2 separate regions of the Homo sapiens genome follow, and region 1 is linked to region 2. The links are contacts of gene promoters, found by promoter capture Hi-C in human tissues and cell types (Jung and others, 2019). All regions are on one chromosome and are shown on one strand. Each heading gives the region's core, a stretch centred on a gene start or on the middle of the fragment in contact. The rest is flanking DNA. Distances are from core to core; before and after follow the strand shown.

Region 1 (3,375 bases), core at 866-3,365, 110 kb before region 2:
CAGGCAAGAACATCACTTTCTAACGGGCCCAGAAGCCCCCGTTTATCTTGGGACCTCCAGAAGAGAGGAATTCACCCAACTCATATAAGTATTTGCAGGCACAGATAAATATGTGACTGGGCTCGAGGCTTTAAAAAGTGTCAAATCTGATATTCCTTATGGAAAAAGTTCTAGGAAAGCCAATTTAGAAGACGGTCTGTATGGGAAATAATTATTTTTGTTGTACCTTATGCAAATAATCAGGCCAAGTATAATAAGATCAAAACTTGTTTTGCAAATTGGTCCTGCTGTGATTTGCCACTGATAAAAATGAAAGACTGGATAGAGAAAGCTTATAATATACCTGCTGTTAGATTCTGTTCTTGTTCATTGTTTTTGTTCATTGTTTTTGAGTTGAAAAATTATTTGCTGCTATTTGGATTGAATCTTAAGTCCTTTCTGGGCTACAAGTCTCCAAACTAATGTTTTCAAATTTTTCTTCCATTTTCCTAACTTAACAGGATTTCTACTGTCTTTTTCCTGATTCCCTGCAAGCTAAAGCTTATTCTTTATGATACAGGTGAGAACATGTCAGATTGCCACTGCCTTTCTCTGTAACTAAAGATGCTTTGAATCTAACATCTGGATAGATTATGCCCACCATTAATGCTTGTTTTTCTTCTGTTTCCATAGAAATGCCTCTATTAAAAGTCTGTTTGCTTTATATTTCAGACAACAGGAGACTGGTTTTCCAGCCTACCAACTTAAATTTCAAATGGTGTTCAATCCCTTCTTATAAGCATTGTTAAACTGAGCTTAAGCATTTTATTAATTATTACTGTGTGCTATTTGATTTTTAAAATAATTATCTGTTACATTCAACGGCGGTGCAGATGGTTAAAGTTTGTCTTCCAGGCTTCAACAGTTCATGTCAAACTGATAGTGGTGCAAGGATTCCAACCCCTACCATCCCAGGAGGAGCCAAGCTCCTATGAAACACTAAATCAAGACGTTTTTATGACTTCATAAATTAGGGATAAACAATGACCCTGGCCAGCAGGAAGTAGCTCCAAAAGATGAAACCATTGCCCTTTCTCCTTAAGAAGAGGGAGAATAAATTCTCTCAGCGGGGAATAAGACACAGTGGAGATGGGGTTGGTTCAGCTCACATGCTCTAGAGCATTCTTTCATGCATTCTCACTGATCACAAACCCACACCAGTACCTCAATGCTAAAAATTCCAGGAACTGGCTCTAGGAGATAACCAAGGTTGCAGCATTCCCCCTTGGGAAGGAATGCTGAACAATCGATTTATAGACTTGTTGCTGCTGGCCAGACCACCAGGTGACCACGACTCCAAACAGCCATTGCAACCTGAGATACTGAACTGCATACCCTACTCTTCACATGCCTTGCCCAGTACAGCCTGCATACCCTCCCCCGATGTCAATTCCCATGTTTTGCCTAATAAAAAAGCCCTACCCACTCTTTTTGGGGAATCGGTTTAAGGAATTCCCTCTCTCTCTTGCACTGCCTCCCTTATGTCGGAGCATAAGCTCCAATGAAGCCTCATTGGATATCCCGTGATCCCACCATTGCACTCCAGCCCGAGTGACAGATACTGTTTCAAAAGAAAATATCTTGATGGCTCTCCCTGGGGGCATAATCAGAGAAACACAGGAGTTCAAGGGACTTGTGTGGGCTTAGAGTCAGCAAACTATGGCTGCCACTTGTTTGTGTAAATAAAGTTTTATTGCAACGCAGACAAGACCATTTATTTATGGATTTGCCCGTGGCTGCTTTTGCAATACTCAGCAGAACTGAGTAGTTGCAGCAGAGACTGTATGGCCAGCAAAGTTGAAAATATTGACTATCTAACCCTTTACACAAAAACTTTGCTGACTGTCTTGAACAACGTGTATTTCAGCAGAGACTACATGGGGCAAAGCCTATGAGTATTGCCTTGAAAGGATAGGGCTAAGACCTGAGAACTTTTGTTCACCCCTTGTGGGTAGGGGATGGTGCTCAGAAAAGGTGTTCTAATTATCACTGAAGTCTCGTTTTCCACCAGGACAGTGGATGGCTGCCCAGAGTTGGATTGAAGTTGATTTAAAGAAAATAAAGGAACAGGATAACCTTGCACACTGGAGATTTGTATCTGCTTGGGTAAAAATAGCATGATAGTGTTATATTACCCAGTGCATCCCACCACTTCTGGAAATTTCGTATATCATTCTCCCTCCCACCTGAGACTGTGGTATTCCATACTCATCACCATCCAGGGATGGCTGTTATGGCAGGAATGCATAGAGGAAGAAGAAAAAAAAAAAAAAAGCCAACGCTCAGCTTTTGAGTTTCAAAACAGGTTTTTGAAATGCTTGGCACCTGACAATAATTTTGAAAACCAAGGATTTTGCTTTATAAAAGCCAGTTTTTAAAAATGGTTTCAAAAGCTTAAGTCCTAAAGAGCTTAGGGTGCATGGTTTATATCATAATAAAAAACTTGGAAAGAGAAGATGAAGAGGCAATTTTATCACTACAGAAATGATAACATCTCCCTGGGAAGAGACAGAAGCAAGGAGATACACGAGAATTAGGTGTGGATAAGTATGGAATCAGTTATTTATTGCTGCGTGAAAACTACCCCAAAACTTAGTGGCTTAAAACAACAATTCTTATTTATTTTGCTCACTGTTCTGCAATTTGGGCAGGGCCTTCTCTGCTCCAGTGACATCAGCTGGGATGGCTTGATGGGGTGGGGGTTGGCAGGTGGTTCGGAGATTTGTTTTCAGGATGGCTCATTCATATGGCTGGTAAGTTGGTGCTGGCTGTTGGGAAACTCAGCTGGGGCTATGGCCAGGGATCTCAGTCCTCTCCACAAGTCTCTCCATGGCTACTTGGACTTTTCTGCAGCATGGGATTTGGGTTCTAAGAGCAAGTATCCCAAGAGAGGAGGATAGAAATGCATAGCTTTAAAATGATATAACTTTGGAAGTCAGATAGTATCTCTTCCACCGTCCTCTACTGATGGAGGCAGTCATAAAGCTCTGCTCAGGTTCAAGGGAAGGTACTATGGTTTGAATGTTTATCCCCTCCAAAACTTATGTTGAAACTTAAATCCCCAATATGGCAGTATTGAAAAGTGGAGCCTTTAAGAGGTGATTGGACCATGGATGCTCTGCCCTCATGAATAGATTAATCCATTTATGGATTGATGGGTTAATGAATTAATGGGTTATTATGGGAGTGGCATTGCTAACTTTATAAGAGAAGAGACACCTGAGCTAGCATACTCAGCCCCCTTCCAATGTGGTGCCTTCCTCAGAACTCTGCAGAGAGTCCCTACCAGCAAGAAGGCCCTCACCAGGTGCACCCCCCTTGACCTTGGACTTCACA
Region 2 (3,435 bases), core at 581-3,080:
GGGCTGAAGGGGGGAGGTGGAACCTGGACTAAAATCAATCCCAGCTCAAGGTAATTACAGGACATGTGCTACCACCCCGGCAGGGCAAGTCAGAGGCTGAGCTGCTCTCCTAGGGCAGCCGTGGCGATTAGTTAGGAATAAAAGCCTCATCACTGGCTTGGGGAGAGAGGCTCACACATTAGTAAACTTGCGCTTTCTCATGCCTGCCAAATTTGGGAGGGGGGATTTATTGAAACAATCTCATCAGGGGCCCTGACTGCCAAGTTGAATGTTTGGGAAAGGAAATCTCAGCCAGGCTCTCAGAAATCCAGCTCCCAAGTTCCCAGGATCGCAAGATGCTAAGGTTCGCAGACTAAGAGATGACTAGGGAGATGATGCTAAGATTTCAGGCTGTACACTGGATTTTTTTTCTCTCTTTCTCTCTGCTTCTTTCAGTCCCTCTCTCCTCTCTGCATGCAAGTAATCTTTAGGGATCTATTTGTCACCAAGACTGCCTGCAAGGAGGGTCCACCCAAAGCTGGAGCCCCAGGAAAAAAGCTTTCTCTCTCTCTCGCTCTCTCTCGCACACGGCCCAGGCAAGCACTCCCTCCTTCTCGGCAGCTCAGCTCTCTTCAGGAATTCAGGACAAGTCTCAGCCACACTTTGGAAAGGACATTAAGATGTGGGACCAGCCAGACATCCACAGCAGCCGTGAGCTGCCCAGGGTGGGTAGACCTGGAGGCCAAGCCAGGGGGCCAGGCATGTCCTCAAGGAGACTGTGACCCCCTGAGGTGGCAGCCACCGCAGGCTGCCCTGTGTGTCTCTGCACCCTTGCCCTGGCCAGGGCATGGTCCCAGAGCCAACCCCTGATTCTCCTTAGCCAGCTGGGAGACCCTTTTCTTGCTAGGCATTCTTTCTCCATTCCAGTGCCCCCCGAGCAAGAGAGTGCTCAATGTCAGGGTCTCCAGCTTCATCTCGTGTCAGGCGGGGACACGCAGAGGGGCAGAGGTGCCCCAAGTGGGGTGGACGTGCAGGGGCCACGGGAGAAGGGAAGCCTCCACGAAGCCTTCTGTCCAGAACATGCAGTCAAGCCAAACACACACAAAGCCCTCTACGCCCCCACCCCATGAAAGCCGCCCCCTCCAGATGCGCGCACAAATGCACCTTCGAATCCATGCTCACATGCCCAGCCCATCGCCCGCCGTCACAGTCATCACACACACACACACACACACACACACGCTCGCGCGCGCACACACACACACACGGTCCCCAGCTAGGGCACAGCAACTTCCTTTCCCCCCGTGTGGAAATATCCATAGTTGCCCTTAAAGCTTAAACTTTTTCCGAGGGGGCGCCAGGGAACGCACGGGGGAGGACGGGGGATTCTGGGTAGGGTTGCCCGGCACTTGGGGTTCCTGGCTTCCCTCCCTCTCCCCCACGCCCCTCACCTGGTAAACCGAGGCACAGCAAGAGGCTGTAGTAGACCACGGGCACGAAACCCAAGCCGCAGGCCGAGCCGGGGGACCACCAAGACAGCGAGCTGTTGGCTGCGAGGTGGGCGTGCGTGTGCTCCATGAGCGCGCCCCTCGCTCCCCTTGCCGCTTCGCGCCCGGCCTGCCAGCCCGACTCTGGTCGCCGGCTCGGTGGTGGCGGCGGCGGAGGCAGCGGCAGCTGGAGCAGCAGCGCCTCTCTCCCCGCAGGACTGGCTCCTACCCTTGGCCGTGATCCCCTCTGCTCGCTCCGCACCTGCCCGCCTGGAGTCTTGGCTCAGCCCTCCCGCAGGGCGCGGGGCGCAGGGTGCGGGGCGCGCTGCGCGGGGCCTCGGGAGGGGCTCCCGGAGCCCGTCTGTGCGCCTCCCACCTCGGACCCGCTCCACTCCCGCCTCAAAGCCGGGGGGCTGGGACGCCGCTCCCCGCAGCCAATCAGCGGCTGCCTGGAAGCGGAGTGTGTGTGGGGTGGGAGGGATGCGGAAGAGGAGGGGGTCCCAGCCGCCTCGCTTGGCTCCACTTTCAGGGGAGAAGATGCAGTTAGACCTGGGAGCCCCGAAGGAAGACCGGAGTGGAAAACAGGCTATCCCCAATCTCCAACCCCGAGGGAGGGGCGTGGTGTGGGTAGGATCTGCCTCTCCCGCAGCGGCTCCTCACTCCTCCAGCGTGTCCTCAGTTTGCCTTTCTCCACTCTCCTCGCAGCCACCTCTCTTGCCCCTCTCCAATGCTTCCAGTCCATCTCCGGATAGAGGATTCTATACCTAGGGCAAAGAACGGGGGAAGGGGTGGGGCTGTTGGAGCAGCGAGGATGCTAAAGCGTTGTCGGTTTTCCTCGACAAGGGAAGCTGAGCTTGCTGGCTCTGGAAAGAGGGGTGCGTGCCTCCCTGTGCGTGTGTGTGGCGACTCTGGGGGTGGCCGCCGGTGAACTGTCCCCTAACTGGAGTGCGTTTGAAGAGGATACAGACTGGCTAAGAGAAGCCCCTCCTGCATGCCGCCCTTCAGTCAGGAATAAGGATGTTGCAGACACTCAAACACGCACTCGCCCACGCTCACACAAAGACACACAATACCCAGGCATGCGGTGTACTCACACGCTCACTCAGGCACGCGGATGCTCTCCCATCCCACACCCAGACCCTTGAAAACACGCAGGCATCCTCATCACCATGCACAAGACCACACTCACAGGGCGCTCCAAACATACGAAAACGCACGCGGGAGTCATGGGGGCTTGTCGAGAGTGCTTGAAGGTTGTGTGAAGGGTAGCATTTGTAAGGCAGGTGGGATCCAAGCAATGTGTGGGTGGGTGGTCCTTTCTCCTCAGGGCAGGCAGGTGGAGGGTTCCGGGTGTGGCCACCACAGACTTGAGGAGAAAGAGAGGAGAGAAAGAGAGAGAGAGAGAGAGAGAGGAGAGAGAGGAGAGAGAGAGAGAGAGAGAGAGGGACATAGTGTCTGTCTGGGGCTCAAGACAGTGAGTGTGAGAGAGTTAAAGATTCTGCAGGAACACCCAGGCCAGGCATCCCCAGGAGCAGACTGTAGCAGCTGCCTATGCAAAGAGCTGTGATGGGTCTGAGAAGCCTAAGACCCCCCGCCCTCAAACCCCCCACTCCCGCTGCTTCCCAACGCCCCTCACCCCTATATCACATCCATTCCTGGAGAGAAGGAACTGGCTAAGCTTTCCCCAGCCTCTTCCAGGTCTCCCAACGTGGAGCAGACCCCTGTCCCTCAAGACCAGCAAAGAGCATGTATCCAGTTCTTGTCTTTGTTAGAGGTTACCCCAGGCAGGGATGGGGGACACTCTAGGGCAGAGTGGAAATCTCCAAAGCATACAGAGTCAGGCAGTCTGCATAAGGGGGGCATCTACTGGATCTAGCTGGGTCTGTGGTAAGCAAGGAGGCACGTGGCCCCACAAAAGGGCAGATTAGAGTCACATGGACCCAGCCCAGTGAGGCCAGGTCTGAGATTT

The links. Contacts are between HindIII fragments. The study calls those that stand out against the background at their distance.
Region 1: a fragment that was not itself captured here is called in contact with the fragment with the promoter of GPR139 in region 2 in 2 of the 25 tissues and cell types used here (H1 embryonic stem cells and aorta).

The regions. Positions count from the first base shown.
Region 1 is chr16:19,958,638-19,962,012 of GRCh38, forward strand. No RefSeq gene overlaps it. Among named protein-coding and RNA genes, the nearest start is that of GPRC5B, 75 kb to the left of the region's middle. The HindIII fragment of the contact is 5,795 bases long and covers 1-3,375 here.
Region 2 is chr16:20,072,060-20,075,494 of GRCh38, forward strand. GPR139 (G protein-coupled receptor 139) reads right to left here and starts at 1,831. Exons shown (of 2, transcript NM_001002911.4): 1 at 1,431-1,831. The coding sequence starts at 1,557. The HindIII fragment of the contact is 2,569 bases long and covers 926-3,435 here.